Linked DNA regions of Homo sapiens: regions 1, 2, 3 and 4 are each linked to region 5. The links are contacts of gene promoters, found by promoter capture Hi-C in blood cells and fetal thymus (Javierre and others, 2016). All regions are on one chromosome and are shown on one strand. The core of a region is centred on a gene start or on the middle of the fragment in contact, and the rest is flanking DNA. Distances in the headings are between cores, read along the strand shown.

Region 1 (3,789 bases), core at 201-2,700, 170 kb after region 5:
TCCAGCCTGAGCGATACAGTGAGACTCCATCTCAAAAGAAAAAAAAAAAAAAAAAGGCCGGGTGCGGTGGCTCACGCCTGTAATCCCAGCCCTTTGGGAGGTCGAGGTGGGCCGATCACGAGGTCACGAGATTGAGACCATCCTGGCTTACATGGTGAAACCCCATCTCTACTAAAAATACAAAAAATTAGCCAGGCGTGGTGGCAGGCGCCTGTAGTCCCAGCTACTCGGGAGGCTGAAGTAGGAGAATGGCGTAAACCTGGGAGGCGGAGCTTGCAGTGAGCCGAGATCACACCACTGCACTCCAGCCTGGGTGACAATGAGACTCTGTCTCAAGAAAAAAAAAAAAAAAAGAGTTGGCCAGGCACGGTGGCTCACGCCTATAGTCCCAGCACTTTGGGAGGCCGATGTGGGCAGGTCACGAGGTCAAGAGATTGAGACCATCCTGGCCAACATGGTGAAACCCCCATCTCTACTAAAAATACGAAAATTAGCTGGGCATGGTGGCGCACCTGTAGTCCCAGCTACTCAGAAGTCTGAGGCAGGAAGATTGCTTAAACCCAGGAGGCGGAGGTTGCAGTGAGCCAAGATCATGCCACTGCACTCCAGCCTGGCGACAGAGCGAGACCCCATCTCAAAAAAATAAATAAATAAATAAAGTTATGTGTACAGGGATGTCTACTGCAGCATTACCTGTGATAAAAAATTGAAATATTCATTATAGAGCAGTAAACAACATGGAATACTACATAGCCGCCAGGAGGAATGAAGTAGAAGATTTTTCTATACATCTGTCTAAGAACAACCAGCAGCAGCTGTCTCGTGTGATTCCATTCTTGCAACAAAAGACTGTTCTCCTGCACAGAAAGTGCCTGGGAGAGTCCAGTGGTTGCCGCAGCAGAAGAGAGCTAGGGGATGGAAGACTTGTTTTGTACTTGCGTTTTTATACTTCTGAGTTTTCTTTATTTTGGACATATGTTACTTTTATAACAGATGATGTGAGATGTTTTACTCAGCATTAAGTTTCAGCTCTCTGTTTTAGATCTCTTCCGTTCCCTGCTGGCAGTTCATCAGCTGGATCAGCCACATGGTGGCCTTACTGGACAAAGACCAAGCCGTTGCTGTTCAGCACTCTGTGGAAGAAATCACTGATAACTACCCGCAGGCTATTGTTTATCCCTTCATCATAAGCAGCGAAAGCTATTCCTTCAAGGATACTTCTACTGGTCATAAGAATAAGGAGTTTGTGGCAAGGTAGGTAATATTACAGAAGGAATAGGTTGATCAAATACTATAGGTTATAAAAATGTGGTTAAAGCACACACGTGGACACTACATTTGTTTTCAAATTAATTAGAGTTGTCATTGAAGAATAATCTTAGCCGTCGCTTTGTTGAATATATCTATTCTGGGTATGTTACTTGTTATAGGATGTATCTCCTTTAAATACTTTCATCTTACACTGCTAACAAAACATTCTGCTCATATGGTCATGATTGCTTGGGATAGACTAGATGAGATGATTTTTGAAATCAGCTCCTGAAATTGTCCTGTAATTTAAAATACACAGAACGACTCTTCCTTTTAATTAGGACTCAGTAGATGGCCTCAAGTGTCATCCTGTCCACTCTTAAACGGATTTATGAGTTGAGACCGATGATGAGTGAGCAGTAGTGCGCAACTATTTCAAGGATGCTTTGTACACAAACTGTGTAGTGTTGTAGTGACATTCTCCATCATGAGGTTTTGGGGTTTTTTGTTTGTTTTTAATTATGAGCAGATCTGCCTCATTATTTTGAATGTATTGATTTCAACAAGATGAAGAAAAGCGCTGGCATCTTTTTTTTTTTTTTTTTTTTTAGTTTTTTTAAATTAATTTATTTTTATTTTTATTTCTTTATTTTTTATTTTTTTTTTGAGACAGAGTATTGTGCTGTCACCTAGTGCAGTGCAATCTCGGCTGCAACCTCCACCTCCCAGGTTTAAGCAGTTCTCCCTGCCTCAGCCTCCTGAGTAGCTGGGATTACAAGCGTGTGCCACCATGCCCAGCTAATTTTTGTATTTTTAGTAGCGACAGGGTTTTGCCACCTTGGCCAGGCTGGTCTCGAACTCCTGACCTCAGGTGACCTCAGGTGATCCGCCCACCTTGGCCTCCCAAAGTGCTAGGATTACAGGCGTGAGCCACCATGCCCAGCTGAGGCCCAGCTTCTGTTGCAGTTAATGGGTGGCTTATCTGTGAACACACCCCTGCCCTACTGAGGCCCTGCCCACCATACTGTTTCTCTGAACAGACAGCTATTGTCTTGAAAAATGAAAGAAGAGAAAAAGATGTGAGAGACAGTGTGTCAAGAAAGTGACCTTGCTGGGCATGATGGTCTGTGCCTATAATACCAACTACTTGGGAGGCCGAGGTGGAAGAATCGCTTGAGGCCAAGAGTTCATGACCAGCCTTGGCAACATAGTGAGATCTCATCTCTAAAATAGTAAAATAAAAATAAGCTAAGCATGGTGGTGCGTGACTGTACTTCCAACTACTTAGGAGGCTGAGGTGGGAGAATTGCTTGAGTACAGGAATTCAAGGCTGCAGTGAGCTATGACTGAACTTGTGAGTTGCCACTGCAGTCCAACCTGGACATCATAGTGAGAACCTGTTTTTTAAAAAGTGACCTTTTCTTTCATAATGTAACTTCAGAAACTATATATCGCGTTATATACGTCAAAACGTCAACATCAGTTGCAAGATTTGCTTTTATCTAAGAGCAGCTCTTTTTTTATTTTAATTTTTAATTTTTATGGGTACATAGTAGGTGTCTATGTTTATGGGGTACATGGGATATTTTGATACAGGCATACAGTGTGTAACAATCACATCAGGGTAAGTGGAGTATCCATCACTTCAAGGATTTATCATTTCTTTGTGTTATAAACATTCCAGTTATACTCTTTTAGTTATTTTTAAATGTACAATAAAAATTTACTGTAGTCAGGCCGGGTGCGGTGGCTCACGCCTGTAATCCCAGCACTTTGGGAGGCTGAAGTGGGCGGATCAGGAGGTCAGGAGATCGAGACCATCCTGGCTAATGCGGTGAAACCCCATCTCTACTAAAAATACAAAAAATTAGCCGGGCATGGTGGCAGGTGCCTATAGTCCCAGCTACTTGGGAGGCTGAGGCAGGAGAATGGCGTGAACCCGGGAGGCGGAGCTTGCAGTGAGCCGAGATCAAGCCACTGCACTCCAGCCTGGGTGACAGAGCAAAACTCTGTCTCAACAAAAAAAAAAAAAAAAAAATTTTACTGTGGTCACCCTGTTGTGCCACTAAATACTAGATCCTGTTTTTCCTAACTATATTTTTGTGCCCATTAACCATCCCCGCTTTCCACCTCCCCTCCCCACGAGTTCAGTTGTTTTAATTTTTAGCTTCCACAAATGAGTAAGAACATGTGAAGTTTTTCTGTGCCTGACTTATTTCACATAATGTCCTTCAGTTCCATCCATGTTGTTTCAAGTGACAGGATCTCATTCTTTTTTATGGCTAAATAGTACTCTATTGCATGTATGTACTGCATTTTCTTCATTCATTTGTCTGTTGATGGACACTTAGGTTGCTTCCAAATTTTGGCCGTTGTGAATAGTGCTGCAATAAACATGGGAGTGCAGATATCATACTGATATCCTTTCTTTTGGGTATATATCCAGTAGTGGGATTTCTGGATTATATGGTACTTCTAGTTGTAGTTTTTTTAGGAATCTCCATAGTGTTCTTCATAGTGGTTGTATGAGTTTACATT
Region 2 (3,686 bases), core at 500-2,999, 220 kb after region 5:
ATGAACCAACATTAACACACTGTTATCAACCAGTATCCATAGTTTACATTAGTGTTCACTCTTGGTGTTGTACATCCTGTGAGTTTAAACAAATGTATAATGACATGTATCTACTATTATAGTATCATACAGACTGGTTTCAGCGCCCTAAAAATTCCCTATGCTCTACCTACTCATCCCTCCCTCCTTCCCTCTCAACCTCTGGCAACCAGTGATATTTTCACTGTGTCCATAGTTTTCCCTTTTCTTGGATATCACAGAGTTGGAATCATACAGCATGTAGGTAGCCTTTTCAGATGTGTTTCTTTCGCTAATATGAATTTAAGTTTCCTCCGTGTCTTTTCACGGCTAGAAGCTGGGTGTACCACAGTTTATCCATTCACCTACCAGAAGACATCTTCTAGTACACCACTTTGATTCCCTTATTTCCATTTCCGTATGTATTTTTAGGTTTTGTGTTAGCGTTTACTCTGGGGAATAACGATTAACTTTATAATAACCAAGTTTTAATTAAATACCAACTGAGTTTCATAGCATACAAAGACTCTGTTCCTTTACAGCTCTGTTGTGCCCCTCTTCCCACACTTTATGTTGTAGTATCACAAACTGCATCTTTATATATTGTGTGCCTGTTAACATAGCTTTACAATTATTGTTTCAGGGGTTTGTCTTTTAAACTATTTAGTAAAATGAAAAAGGAACTTATAAACCAAAGGGTGTTTTTATATTTACCTATGTAGCTACATTTACCATTGTTCTTTATTTTTGCATGTGTTTGAGTTACTGTTTGATGTCCTTTTGTTTCAGCCTGGAAGACTTCCTTTAGGATTTCTAGAGCAGGTCTATTGGTGAAATACATCAGTTTTTGTTTAGCTGGAAATGTCTTAATGTCTCAATTTTTGCTGGATATAGTATTTCTGGTTGACTTTTTTCCTTTTATCCCACTGTCTCCTGACCACCATGGTTTTGATGAAAAACTGATTATTAATTTTATTCAGGATCTCTTGTATGTGATGAGTCACTTGGCTCTTGCAGCTTTCCAGATTGTCTCTTTTTGTTTGGTGTTCAATAATTTGACTATAGTGTTTCTTAGTATGGATCTCTTTGAGTTTGTTCTACTTGGTGTTGTTGAACTTCTTGGATGCGTAGAATTCATGTATTTCACAAAATATGGGACATTTTGGCTATTCTTTCTTTCTTTTTTTTTTTTTGAAATGGAGTCTCACTGTCCCCCAGGCTGGAGTGCAGTGGCACAATCTCAGCTCACTGCAACCTTCGCCTCCCAGGTTCAAGTGATTCTCCTGCCTCAGCCTCCCTAGTAGCTGAGATTACAGGTGCCCACCACCATGTCTGGCTAATTTTTGTATTTTTAGTAGAGATGGTCTTGAATTCCTGACCTCAGGTGATCCGTCCACCTTGGCCTCCCAAAGTGCTGGGATTACAGGCATGATCCACTGTGCCCGGCCTATTATTTATTTAGGTAGTCTTTCTGCTACTTTCTCTTTGTCTCCTCTTTCTGGGACTCTCATTATGCATATGTTGATCTACTTGATGATATCCCACAGGTCCCTTAGGCTTGGTTCACTTTTCTTCATTCTTTTCTTTTGTGCTTCCCGGGCTGCATAATTTCAATTGTCCTATATTCAAGTTTGCTGATTCTTTCTCTTTCTTTCCTTTTTCTTTCCTTTCCTTCCTTTCCCTCCTTTCCCTCCCTCCCTCTCTTTTTCTTTGTCTCTCTCTTTTCTCTTTCTTTTCTTTCTTTCTTTCCTTCTTTCTCTCTCTCTCTTTCTTTCTTTCCCTTCCTCCCTCCCTCCCTCTCTCTCTTTCTCTTTCTTTCTTTTGATGGAGTCTTGCTCTGTTGCCCAGGCTGCAGTGCAGTGGCACGACCTCGGCTCACTGCAACCTCTGCCTCCCAGGTTCAACAGATTCTCCTGCCTTGGCCTCCCAAGTAGCTGACATTACAGGCATGCGCCACCATCCCCAGCTAATTTTCTTTGGATTTTTATTAGAGACAGGGTTTCACCAAGTTGGTCAGCCTGGTCTCAATCTCCTGACCTCAAATGATCTGCCTGCCTCGGCCTCCCAAAGTGCTGGGATTACAGGTGTGGGCCACTGCATCCAGTCTGATGATTATTTCTGGTGCCTGTTTAAACCTGTTTGTTGTTGTAACCTCCTAGTGATTTTTCATTTCATTTCAGCTCCAGAATTTCTAATTGGTTCTTTTTGGTAATTTCTCTCTCTTAACTGATATTCTCTATTCGGTGATACTTCATGCTCCTGGCTTCCTTTAGTCCTTTGTACATGGTTTACCCTAACTCTGAGCATTTTAAAGACATGTGATTTAGTTTTTGTCCACTAAGTAAGTCCAGTGTCTGGCTTCCTCAGGGATAGTTTCTATTAATTTCTTCAGAGTATGCTTGTGAATGGTTTATACTTTCTTGTTTCTTTGCATGCTTCATAAATGTTTGTCAAAAACTCAGCATTTTGATAATTACAATGTGGCAACTCTGCAAAGTAGATTCCGCCCCCACCCTCCACCCCTGCCAAGGGTTTGTTGTTGCTATTTGTTGTGGGCTGTTGTTACTTGTTACTGACTTTTCAAAACTACTTTTGTAACATCTGTATTGTGTTTGTTGTGTGAGGCCACTGAAGTCTGTGTTCCATTAGCTTAGTGGTCAGCTAGTATTTTTAACAGAGTAACCTTAAATGCCCAAAGCCCCCAACCCATAAAAGAAAGAGAGAGAGAAAAAAAAAGTACCTACAGAAACTCTTCCAGTCTTTAGAGACTGGCTCTGTGTTGGCATACTCCTTTAACACTTAGCCAGGTTGTTTATAATTCTGTCTTAGCTTTCTCTTCTTGAATGTGCACATCTTGAAGGTCAGCCAGAAGTGGAGGCTTGAGGTCTTCTCAGGCCTTTTCTGAGCACTCCGCCCACGCTGGGCATGCACGTAATTCCCTGGTACACGCAAGAGCTTTTAATGGCCCTTATTCCCCACTTATGTTCTTCCTCAAGCTCTTCCTTCCTAGACTTTTTGGTCTTTCTATTGCTTGTCTCAGGCTCCTACAGCCAGTACTTTTGCCCTTGCTGCTCTTGGCAAATGCCCAAATGCAAACGCTATCCTTGCTCTAGTCCATCAGGGAGCTGTCAGCCCGGTCCAAGCACACTCCCGTTTCTTTGAGAACAGAGTCTGTGTTGTTCACTCTGGCACTAGCAGCCTGCATCAGGAGTTCATGCTGCCATCTTCATGGCCACCAACAATCTGGAGAAGGAGGGATGGCAAGCAGGCAGTTTAAAACACCAAAGTGCTTTCTTAGTACATTGCAGCAGCTTCTTTCTTCATTATACTTTCCCCAGTTGCTGTAAGTTTGTGGCTAGATTTCAGAGTTCTGTAAAAGTTGATTAGGACAGCTTTTGCCAGCTGTATTTGTGGAGTGATGGAGCACTGGAATTCTTTACTCTGCCATTTTTGGTGATGTTGCTTCTCTCATATTTCTTAAAATTTTGATTTTGTACTCATAGAAAGAACTTCATTTCTTTTAGACATTGATTTTAATAATATATCACTCTTACGTGCATGTAAAAAGGACAATATAAGTAAATTGCTTAAGATGTTCCCAAATGTTTTCATGTTCACTCACTGTCTCCTCTGAATCACTTTTCATTTCAGAGTCATTGCCCTGCAGG
Region 3 (3,795 bases), core at 105-2,604, 150 kb after region 5:
CAAGCGATTCTCCTGCCTCAACCCCCCAAGTAGCTGGGATTACAGGCACGCACTACCATGCCCGGCTAAATTTTGTATTTTTAGTAGAGATGGGGTTTCACCATGTTGGCCAAGCTGGTCTTGAACTCCTGACCTCAAGTGATCCTCAAGTGAGCCTTGGCCTCCCAAAGTAATGGGATTACAGGCATTACTTACCATGCCCAGCCTGGTGATAATAATTTTGATTGTTTGGTCTCTCCACTGTATAATGCCATTTTTTTGCTTTTCTTTTGCAACTAACAAATAAATGTAGGAGCTGCTTTGAGACATACAAATGTCCTGCTTCTCCTAAGACTTATCCCTCTGTATTTCACATTTGTGGATGACTCCTGGCCCAAACCAGTGTTGACAATAATGGTTGCAAAATTATAATTTCCAACTCTACCATTCATTTATATTAGTCTACATCTTATTGTAAGCAGGCACCCTTCCTTCTGTTTACTTACTTATTTACTTTTTAAAGATTATCAATAAAGACTCAGGGATTCAAATTTTATTTAGTGGGATATAACCTATACTGTCCTTATTTATTTTGTGTTCAATTATCTCAGATTTGGCCAACAGGCTCCCCTTTAAGCTAACAAATCAGGCTCATCTTACCTGTCTTCTACTGTTTTCTTTTAGAAATGTTATGGTTTTAGGTCTTACATTGAGGTCTCTGATGCACTGGAAGAAAATTTTTGTAAATGGCGTGAGGTAGGGGTAGGTGTTTACTTTTTCCATATAGATATCTATCTAGCCGCATTTGTTCAAAAGTCTTTCATAATTGAGTCACCTTGGCAATTTTTTTGAAACTCAATTGACCACATATGTGTGGGTCTATTTCTGGATGCTCTATTGTAGCCCTTGCTTTGTGTTTTTTTCACAATAGCAAACTGCCTTCATTTATATCACTTTATAGTACGTTTTGAAGTCAGACAGGATGAGTTCTCGAACTTTTCTTTTTTTTGAGACAGGGTCTTACTCTGTCACCCGATAATGGCTCATTGCAGTCTCAGCCTCCCAGGTTTAAGCAGTCCTCCCACTTCAGCCTCTCAAGTAGCTGGGACCACAGGCGTGCGCCACCATGCCTGGCTAATTTTTTTGTCTTTTTTTGTGGAGACAGGGTTTCACTATGTTGCCCAGGATGGTATGTAACTCCTGGGCTCAAGCAACACGCCCACCTCAGCCTCCCAGTGTGCTGGGATTACAGGCATGAACCATGGCACCTGGCTCAACTTTCTTTATGAAAACTACTTTATTTTAGTTGATCTGCATTTCTATTTACATTTTAGAATCTGCTTGTCAATTTGTATAAAGAAAAACTGCTGAGATTTTGATTGGGACTGTATTGACTATAGTTTAATTTGGGGAGTTGCTATCTTAACAATATAGAGTTATCGAGTTCATTAATATGGCATATCTCTGTTAATTTAGATATCTTTAATTTCAGTGATTTGTATTTTTTCAGTATGGAGATCTTGGATGTCTTTTGTGATTTATTCCTAAGTATTTTATGTTTTTTGGCACTGTTATAGATGGATTTATTTTTAAAATTGTATTATTTTCCAATTATTTGCTGCTAATGTAATTGCTTTTTATATATTAACTTTGTATCTTTGCTAACATGGTAGTTTTAGTTCTTGTTTTGCAGGTTCTCTGGGATTTTCTATCATATCATCTGCCGATAGAGCCACCTTTCTTTCTTTCTGAACTTTATGCCATTTATTTCATTTTCCTGCTTTGTTAAAACCATGAGGACCTCAAGTACAATCTTGAATATACGTGCTAAAATGAGCATCTTAGTTTTATTCCTGATGTTAGAGAAGATAGTTCACTCACTCAGCTTTAAAAAATAATTTTTTTGTAAATGCCTTTTATCAGATTGAGGAAATTCCCTTCTATTCCAGGTTTTCTGAGAGTTTTGTTTTATCATGAATGAATGTCGAATTTTATCAAACACTTTTTCTGCAACAGCTTAATCATATTGTTTTTCTCCTTTATTGTGTTTATGAAGTATTAGCTTTGATGCTTTTTAAATATGAAGCCAATCTTGCATTCTTAGGGTAAACCCAATACGGTCATGATGATCCCTTAAGGATTTTAGCATCTACATCCAAGTGGGATATTGGTGTGTAATTTTCTTTTTTGTAATATCTTCATCAGGTTTTGGTATTAGGGTTATCATGGCCTCATAAGATGAGTAAGGCATGTTCCCTTCTCTATTTTAAAAAAAGTTTATGGCCAGGCGTGGTGGCTTATGCCTCTAATTCCAGCACTTTGGGAGGCCAAGGTGGGCGGATCACCTGAGGTCAGGAGTTCAAGACCAGCCTGACAAACATGGACAAAACCTGTCTCTACTAAAAATATAAAATTAGCCGAGCATGGTGGCACATGCCTGTAATCCTAGCTACTCGGAGGCTGAGGCAGGAGAATCGCTTGAACCCGGGAGGCAGAGGTTGCGGTGAGGCAAGATCGTACCATTGCACTCCAGCCTGGGCAACAAGAGCAAAACTCCGTCTCCAAAGGAAAAAAAAAAATTATATAAGATCCTCATTATTTCATACTTGAATATTTGATAGGATTTACCAGTGAAACCTATCCTATTTGGGCATGGGTTTTCCCTTGGGGAAGATTTTTGATAATGTATATAATTTCCTTAGTCAATACTGATAGAGAATTTAAACTTTCTATTTCTGGCTGGGCATGGTGGCTTACACCTGTAATCCCAGCACTTTAGGAGGCCGAGGTGGGTGGATCATTTGAGGTCAGGAGTTGGAGACCAGCCTGGCCAATATGGTGAAGCCCTGCCTCTACTAAAAATACAAAAATTAGCTGAATGTGGTGGTGGGCACCTGTAGTCCCAGCTACTCAGGAGGCTGAGGTAGGAGAATCACTTGAACCCAGGAGGTGGAGGTTGCAGTGAGCAGAGATCGTGCCATTGCATTCCAGCCTGGGAGACAGAGCAAGATTCTGTCTCAAAATAAATAAATAAATAAATAAATAAATAAATAAATAAATATAAAATTCTATTTTTGTGTCATTTTTGTTAAATTGTATTTTTCAATCACTTTGTCCATTTTCTTTTTAAATTTCTGCCTTCTTTATTTGTTTTTTAAAGTAAATTTGTCCATTTCATCAAAGTCATCAAATTATTGGTATAATGTTCACATTATTCTCATCCTTTTTATTATTTGTAGTGTCTGTGGAGGGAACCCCCTTTTTCATTCCAGATATTGGTTATTTGTGTTCTCTTTTTTAACACTTGATTCATCTGGGTAAAGGTTTGTGTCAGTTTTGCTTTTTCAAAGGATCAGTTTTTTACTTTGTTAATTTTCTTTATTATTTGTCTGTTTTCTATTTAATTGATTTCTAGTATCGTCTTTACTATTTTTTTCTTTTCCTCTTACCTTATATTTGCTTTTCTTTTTCTAGTTTCTTTAGGTGGAAACTGTTGATTTTATACCTTTTCTTCCTCCTAATATAAGCATTTAAAGTTATTTGTGTCCCTGTAAAGTACTGCTTTAGCTGCATTCTGCACATTTTGGTATGTCATTCAGTTCAACGTATTTTTCTAACTCTCATGTGACTTGATCCATTAAATATTTAAGTGTTTTAATTTCCAAATACCTGGGTTTTCTGGCTATCTTAGTGATTTCTAAATTCCACTGTGGTCAGAAAACACCCTCTGTATGATTTTGATCCTTTTAAATTTTATTGAGACTTCTTTTATGTGCCAACATATGGTCTATTTTAGTAAATACCTATGTAAACTTG
Region 4 (3,758 bases), core at 578-3,077, 180 kb after region 5:
TTTTACTAAATGTGAACAGTAACTATGTGAGGATGCTGCCATTTGTGCTCGGTACTTTGAGAGTTCTGGCTTACATATTCTGCTCCTTGCCTTTTTTCTTGTTTAGTTTCTGCCAGTCCCTGAGTTGATGCCTTTTCGGCTAACTCGCCAGTTTATCAATCTGATGTTACCAATGAAAGAAACGGGCCTTATGTACAGCATCATGGTACACGCACTCCGGGCCTTCCGCTCAGACCCTGGCCTGCTCACCAACACCATGGATGTGTTTGTCAAGGAGCCCTCCTTTGATTGGAAAGTAGGTTTTGTTTCATGTGCACTTTTCACTTTTGTGACAGTGTCCCCGTGATCAAGCTGGTATCTCTCGTGTATGATGGAAGTGCATTGAGTCATGTTGATGAAAATATTTACATTATTTTGTACAGCATTTCTCAAAGTTAGTATTTAGGATTGTCTGCTTGAAAACCAGTTAAGAGGCTGGGCCCAGTGGCTCACACCTATAATCCCAAAACTTTGGGAGGCAGAGACGGGAGGATCACCTGAGGTCAGGAGTTGGAGACCAGCCTGGCCAACATGGTAAAACCCTGTCTCTACTAAAAATACAGAAATTAGCTGGGCGTGGTAACGCACACCTGTAATCCCAGCTCCTTGGGAGGCTGAGGCAGGAGAATGGCTTGAAACCAGGAGGCAGAGGTTGCAGTGAGCCGAGATCACGCCACTGCACTCCAGCCTGGGTGACAAGAGTGAAACTCCGCCTCAAAAAAAAAAAAATTAACAGGCAAAACCTTTATTTGGAGAAATAAGGGGACTGCTGAGGCCCCTCGTCTCGTGATGTGTGTGCCATGGAGTCTGTATGAACAGCTTTGTAGCTGTAGAAAGCAAGGCTGCTCCTGGTTATAGATGTTTGTTTACTTTAAGATCATTACTAGATTTAATCTGTTTGGGCATGATTGTATATACCATTATGATCAGCCGGGAAAATCATGTTCTTTTCTTCTAGAATTTTGAACAGAAAATGCTGAAAAAAGGAGGGTCATGGATTCAAGAAATAAATGTTGCTGAAAAAAATTGGTACCCCCGACAGAAAATATGTTACGCTAAGAGAAAGTTAGCAGGTGCCAATCCAGCAGTCATTACTTGGTAAGATTTTTATATGTGGAAAAAACTAACGGACTACCGACATGCTACTGTTTCTCGAGGAGCCAACATATATACAAAGTGCTGAGCTCTTGACACTCTGTTAGCATGACTTCTCTGCTTTCATTGAGGAGGAAAGCAGGGCTTAGAGAGGCTGACTTCCCCAAAGCCAGGGCAAGGCCTGCAACTCTGACGTATGTGACCCCTGCACTGTCTTCAGGTTTAAACTCAGTCCCTGGAACAGTGGCGCCAATTGGAGAAACAGAAGGTGCACTCTTAGACAGTTGCCAGAATATTGTTACATGCATGAGGAGACTTAGGTTTTAAATTTGCTTTTGTCCTTTTTAGGGCGTTTGACCCTGATGAATATAGTACCTAGGTATGAAAAGCACTGTGTGGGCTTGTTAGATGAGAATTCAATTTGGGTTGGCTTTTAGGTTAGCCTTAAAGTTTTCTCTTGTTGAGGTCTAAAGCAAATAGAAATTTATGGAGATGATTCATAGGAATGAAAAAAGTTGGACTTTAGAATTAAGTAATAGTGGCAATCTATTGTCAACTTATTTTTGACAAGGGTGCCAAGACCATTCAGTGACCTTTCCAACAAATAGCGCTGGCAAAAGAATGAAGTTAGGTCCTTGTTTCACACCATGTGGAAAAATTAATTCAGAATGGATCAGAGAGCTAAGTGTAAGAGTCAAAACTATAAAACACTTAGAAATAGGAGTAAATCAGCTGGGCGTGGTGGCTCACGCCTCAACACTTTGGGAGGCCAAGGCTAGTGGATCACTTGAGGTCAGGAGTTCGAGACCACCCTGGCCATCAAGGTGAAACCCCATCTCTACTAAAAATACAAAAATTAGCTGGGCATGGTGGTGCGCACCTGTAATCCCAGCTGCTAGGGAGGCTGAGGGAGGAGAATGACTTGAACCTGGGGAGGCGGAGGTTGCAGTGAGCCAAGATGGCACCACTGTACTCCAGCCTAGGCGACAAAGTGAGACTCTGCCTCAGAAAAAAAAAAAAAAAAGGAATAGGAGTAAATCATCCTGACCTTGGATTTTGTTGTGATACTTGCCATTTTTTAGGTATGACACTGAAAGCACAAGCAAGAAACAAATATATACATTGGACTTCATCAAAATTAAACAATTTTGTGCTTCACAGAGTGCTATCAAGAAGGTGTTTCAGCCTTCCAAATGGGATAAAATATTTGCAAGTCATGTATCTGATATGGGACTTGTATCTAGAATACATTAAAAAAACTCTTATTGCCTAATAATAGGTAGATAGATAACCCAATTAAAAATGGTCAGGGCTGGGCGCAGTGGCTCACACCTGTAATCCCAGCTACTAGGGAGGCTGAGGCAGGAGAATCACTTGAACCCAGGAGGCAGAGGTTGCAGTGAGCCGAGATCACGCCATTGCACTCCGGCCTGGGTGACAGAGCAAGACCCTGTCTCAAAAAAAAAAAAAAAAAAAAAAAAATGGTCAAAAGACTTGAACTGACATTTCTTTAATGAAAATATACAAATGGCCAATAAGCGGCATGCAAAAATGCTCAACGTCACTAGTCATCAGGGAAATCCAAGTGAGATACTACCTCACACCTGCTAGGATGGCTATTAATTAATTAATTTATTTATTTATTTATTTATTTATTTTTGAGACAAAGTCTTGCTCTGTCACCCAGGCTGGAGTGCAATGGCACGATATGGACTCACTGCAACCCCCACCTCCTGGGTTCAAGCGATCCTCCTGTCCGAGCCTCCTGAGTAGCTGGAATTATAGGTTCATGCTACCACGCCTGGTAATTTTTGTATTTTTAGTAGAAATGGGGTTTCGCCATGTTGGCCAGGCTGGTCTTGAACTCCTGACCTCAGGCGAGCCACCACGCCTTGCCAGATGACTATAATTTTAAAATGGGGCTAATGCAGTGGCTCACACCTGTAATCCCAGCACTTTGGGAGGCCAAGGCAGGAGGATAACTAGAGCCCGGGAGTTCAAGTCTAGCCTGGGCAACATAGCAAGACCCTGTCTCTACCAAAAATTTTTAAAACTTTCTCTTTTTTTAATTAAAAAAAAAGGAATCTAACAAGTGTTGAGGATGTAGAGAAGGTGGACTCCTCATACTCTGCTGGTGGGAGTGGGAAAAGGTGCAGCTGCTGTGGGAAAGTGGCAGTTCTTCACAAAGTTAAACATAGAGTTACCATTGGACCCATCAATGCCACTCCTAGGTGAATCCTAGGAATTCACTCAGGAGAAGTGAAGGCATACATTCACACAAAAACTTGAGCAGCATAATTCATGTTCTGTTTTCCTACAAATCCAGTCTTTGACTTCAAGGTTATAAGCCACAGAAAATACTCTGTGAGTGATGACGTGGGGAATGTGTTTGGATAGGATCACTAGGGATGCAGGCAACAAAGGACAATGACACATGCTTTGTGTTTTCTGTGTTTGTTTTTTTTCCAGTGATGAGCTACTCCTGGGTCATGAGAAGGCCCCTGCCTTCAGAGACTATGTGGCTGTGGCACGAGGAAGCAAAGATCACAACATTCGTGCCCAAGAACCAGAGAGTGGGCTTTCAGAAGAGACTCAAGTGAAGTGCCTGATGGACCAGGCAACAG
Region 5 (3,908 bases), core at 154-2,653:
TGACCTGGCATCCTCACTCCGAGCTTGTGTCACACAAAACAGAAAAGACAGCCATTAACTTTCAGGGCCGGCCTTCCTGGATTTGTCTTTTCCTTGGGGCATTATGACTCACCACTGAACCAAACCAAACAGAGGCAAATGGCAATCGAATTAAGCAGCACCCAGGCCACAGCCTGCTGTGGGTGTCTGTGCGCACCAAGCGGCAGCGCCCAGCCCGAGGCTGAGCGCCCGGGTCCCGCGCACCCACCCAGCGCTGCCAGCTGCGGCGAGAGGGCAGACGGGGCGGCGCCGGGGGCTGTAGTGGGCCCGGCTCGGGGGACTCACGCGTCTGGGCGGGGGTGGCCCTTCCACGCCGGCTGCCGCGGCGGCTCGGGGTCGACGCCGGGGACGACATAGTGCTCGGAGTACCTGCGCGACAAGGACAAGCTCGGGCCGGGCCCGCCTCCCGGCTTCCCTGCCCTGCTCCGCAGCGCGGACGTTCCCGTCGGCTCCGCGCCACGCCCTCCCCGCCGGCGCGCGGTTACCGTGGAAAGGCGGCCGCTTGCCGACGACGCTCGCGGACTCCGAGTCCACCTGGCGAGTAGCGCTCCCAAACCGCGAGACCCAGAGTTCCCGCCGGCGGCAAGGTCGTCTCCGCCCCTGGCGGGGCCTCACCAATCACAGCGGCGCTCGTACGTGGCTCCGCCTCCGGGAGGCGCCACTGCGCATCGGCAGGGGGGGACAGTGCCGCTTCTTTCAGCGCCCGTGCGTAAACCAGAAGTAGGCCTCGCTCGGCCCCCCTTGGTCCAGATGGTCTGACCCCCTGCGCGGCAGCGTTTTCGCGGGAAAACTGGGTCCTACAGCACCAGCTCTCGGGGTGTGTTCCTCTAGCGTTGGCTAGGGAGCGTGTGCTTCTTTATCCCTTAGGCGTTTTTGGTTAATAAGGACATTACAGATGCATTTCTCACTTAAAGATTTTTTTTATTAAAAAAAATTAAGGACGGGAGGTGGTGGGGATGGTCTCATTATGTTGCCCAGACTGGTCTCGAACTCCTGCGATCCCCCCGCCTCAGCTTCCTAAAGTGTTGGGACTGCAGGCGGGCATCACCGCCCCCGACCGCGTTTGTCGTTTTTTATCGAGGAACAAACTTGGAACTCTTGACCTAGGCCCCTCGCTTGTTTTATCTGCCTCTGGTATTTATTTAGCCAAGTCCAACACCAAGTAGCCACCCAAACTACCTCCGCAGGTCAGACGTTTTTCCTTAGGTTTCCATGTTGATTCGGGCCAAAGAGGCGCGCTTACTGGCCAGGCCTTCCCGCAGGGGTCCCCGGGAAAGTTCCTGCCGCCGCGCCCCGCAGCCCCGCCTCCGCGCGTAGGGGCATTTCCGGGTCCGGGCCGAGCGGGCGCACGCGCGGGAGCGGGACTCGGCGGCATGGCGGGCTCCGGAGCCGGTGTGCGTTGCTCCCTGCTGCGGCTGCAGGAGACCTTGTCCGCTGCGGACCGCTGCGGTGCTGCCCTGGCCGGTCATCAACTGATCCGCGGCCTGGGGCAGGAATGCGTCCTGAGCAGCAGCCCCGCGGTGCTGGGTGGGTACCGGCCCGAGCTGGGCCGCGGGTGGGTCCTGGCTTCCCGAGTCGTTCTGGAGCCGGGCAGCCCGGCGCTTCTCTGTGTTTAGATGACGGTATTTTGAAGTACAGCAATTAGATTCTTGGGGGAATTTCTGTGTATGTGTATAAAGGGATTTGTCATACTGCTTTTTACCCCCTAGTATTAGAGGAAAGATATTTTAAAGCCAAAGTTGGTGAAAACGACCCCTAATATGGCAATCATTGCTATGCAGAGTGGGGGGCAGGGCAAGAGAAATAATTTTTTTTTTTTTTGAGACGGAGTCTCGCTCTGTCGCCCAGGCTGGAGTGAAGTGGCGCGATCTCGGCTCACTGCAACCTCCGCCTCCCGGGTTCAAGCTATTCTCCTGCCTCAGCCCCCCGAGTAGCTGGGATTACAGGCGCGCGCCACCACGCCCGGCTAATTTTTTTGTATTTTTAGTAGAGATGGGGTTTCACCATGTTGGTCAGGCTGGTCTCGAACTCCTGACCTCGTGATCCCCCCGCCTCGGCCTCCCAAAGTGCTGGGATTACAGACGTGAGCCACCGGGCCCGGCCAAGAGAAAGTATTTTCTTTCACCTGAATCTCGCCTAATCCCACCAGTACCTTTTCCAAACCCCTCTATTTGCCGTTCCTACTTTGAGAAAAATTGAAGAAATGTAATTGAAGTCATGTTCTTTTAACTCTTTAGCAATGCCTGGGTGGGAACTTTTTCCCCTTTGTAGTAAAAGTGCCTCTTTTTAGCATTTTAAATATTCAAATACTTAATTATGTGGATCTCCTGTATTCCTTCTTTAAAACACGAGTATGCAGACCTTGATGTTGTGCCCTATTAAAAGGTGAGATTTTCTTCCGGAGGGTCTAGTAGTGAATATGGTGTAGGAATAACTTAAACAGTTTAAACTAGATGCTATATGTGGCACGGTGCGGTGGCTCATGCCTGTAATCCCAGCACTTTGGGAGGCTGTGGCAGCTGGATCACCTGAGGTCAGGAGATGGAGACCAACCTGACCAGTATGGTGAAACCTTGTCTCTACTAAAAATACAAAAATTAACTGGGCATGGTGGCGAGCGCCTGTAGTCCCAGCTATTCGGGAGGCTGAGACAGGAGAATGTCTTGAACCCAGGAGAAGGAGATTGCAGTGAGCCGAGATTGTGCCACTGCACTCCAGCCTGGGCAACAGAGCACGACTCCGTCCCAAAAAAAAAAAAAAAAAGATGCTATATACATGTATCCTATATGTACTCTATCTGTTGTCAAGAATATATTAACAATGGGGAAATATCAAACAAAAAACTAACATTGCGTGATTACTTTCTCTTCTCAGGGTTTCAAATTTAGAATTCATTTTTGTTCGTTTAGTAACTTGTTTCTAAAGCACTTCCAAGTTTACCTTCCATTTATGCCATATCTCCTTTCACTTGAGAGATTCCAGGGGAAGTGTATTAGTTCCTTATTGCTGCTGTAACAATTACCACAAGCTTAGTGGTTTAAAACAGCACAGGTCTGTTACTCTTACAGTTCCCACTGTAAGGGGGATTCTGTGAGTCAGAATCCCACACAGGTCTCACCAAGCTAGAACCAAAGTACCAGACAGGGCTGCTTTCTTTCTGAAGGCTCTTGGGGAGGATCCATTGCCTTATTCATTCAGGTTATATAGGATTGAGGTCCCTGACATTCCATACTTCTTGAAGCTGTCCCCTTTCCTTGGATCACAGCTCCCTTCCCTTGGTCTTCAAGGCCAGCAACAGCATGTCAAGTCCCCCTAACTAGAGGTTTGGAATCTCCCGCTTTCCCAACTTCCTGTCTCTCTGACCCACTCTTCTTCATCTCCTTACTTTAAGGGCCTGTGTGATTACATTGGGCTCTCTGGATAATCCAGTATGATCTTCCCATTTTAAGGTCAGCTGATTAGCTACCTTAATTCCATCTGCAAGCTCAATTTCCTTTTGCTATATACATTTAACATATTCACAAGATGTGACCCCAGGGATTGGGATGCAGGCATCTTTGGGGCCATTATTTTGCGTACTGCATCCCTGTGGAACATTGTCTAGAATTTTCTGCTTTGTTTTAATACAGCAACCTTGGGTTAGTGTTTTATATTTATAAGGCTGCCTTGAAAACCGTTGCAACCTTGGCCAGGCGCGGTGGCTCACGCCTGTAATCCCAGCACTTTGGGAGGCCGAGGCGGGCTGATCGTGAGGTCAGGAGATCGAGACCATCCTGGCTAACACGGTGAAACCCCGTCTCTACTAAAAATACAAAAAAAAAATTAGCCGGGCATGGTGGTGGGCACCTTTAGTCCCAGCTACTTGGGAG

The links. The method cuts DNA at HindIII sites, captures the fragments that hold promoters and counts their contacts. A CHiCAGO score of 5 or more calls a contact.
Region 1: a fragment that was not itself captured here is called in contact with the fragment with the promoter of PRKDC in region 5 in 1 of 17 cell types (neutrophils); the score reaches 5.2 in neutrophils.
Region 2: a contact is called between a fragment that was not itself captured here and the fragment with the promoter of PRKDC in region 5, in 1 of 17 cell types (neutrophils). The highest score is 9.5, in neutrophils.
Region 3: a fragment that was not itself captured here is called in contact with the fragment with the promoter of PRKDC in region 5 in 3 of 17 cell types (erythroblasts, activated CD4 T cells and neutrophils); the score reaches 6.1 in erythroblasts.
Region 4: a contact is called between a fragment that was not itself captured here and the fragment with the promoter of PRKDC in region 5, in 7 of 17 cell types (activated CD4 T cells, neutrophils, erythroblasts and 4 more). The highest score is 8.9, in activated CD4 T cells.

The regions. Positions count from the first base shown.
Region 1 is chr8:47,791,755-47,795,543 of GRCh38, reverse strand. PRKDC (protein kinase, DNA-activated, catalytic subunit) reads left to right here. Exons shown (of 86, transcript NM_006904.7): 74 at 1,043-1,254. Among named protein-coding and RNA genes, the nearest start is that of CEBPD, 55 kb to the right of the region's middle. The HindIII fragment of the contact is 6,008 bases long and covers 1-3,789 here.
Region 2 is chr8:47,743,032-47,746,717 of GRCh38, reverse strand. No RefSeq gene overlaps it. Among named protein-coding and RNA genes, the nearest start is that of CEBPD, 6.7 kb to the right of the region's middle. The HindIII fragment of the contact is 5,781 bases long and covers 1-3,686 here.
Region 3 is chr8:47,812,339-47,816,133 of GRCh38, reverse strand. The region is part of intron 68 of PRKDC (protein kinase, DNA-activated, catalytic subunit); the gene reads left to right. Among named protein-coding and RNA genes, the nearest start is that of CEBPD, 76 kb to the right of the region's middle. The HindIII fragment of the contact is 8,762 bases long and covers 1-3,795 here.
Region 4 is chr8:47,774,223-47,777,980 of GRCh38, reverse strand. It overlaps PRKDC (protein kinase, DNA-activated, catalytic subunit), which reads left to right. Exons shown (of 86, transcript NM_006904.7): 84 at 107-295; 85 at 998-1,137; 86 at 3,604-3,758. Among named protein-coding and RNA genes, the nearest start is that of CEBPD, 38 kb to the right of the region's middle. The HindIII fragment of the contact is 8,625 bases long and covers 1-3,758 here.
Region 5 is chr8:47,957,631-47,961,538 of GRCh38, reverse strand. It overlaps PRKDC (protein kinase, DNA-activated, catalytic subunit), which reads left to right and starts at 1,403. Exons shown (of 86, transcript NM_006904.7): 1 at 1,403-1,566. The coding sequence starts at 1,413. MCM4 (minichromosome maintenance complex component 4) reads right to left here and starts at 598. Exons shown (of 17, transcript NM_182746.3): 1 at 525-598; 2 at 325-408; 3 at 1-23. The coding sequence starts at 394. RefSeq lists silencers at 165-564, 1,235-1,534, 1,545-1,594 and an enhancer at 1,775-1,934. The HindIII fragment of the contact is 8,899 bases long and covers 1-3,069 here.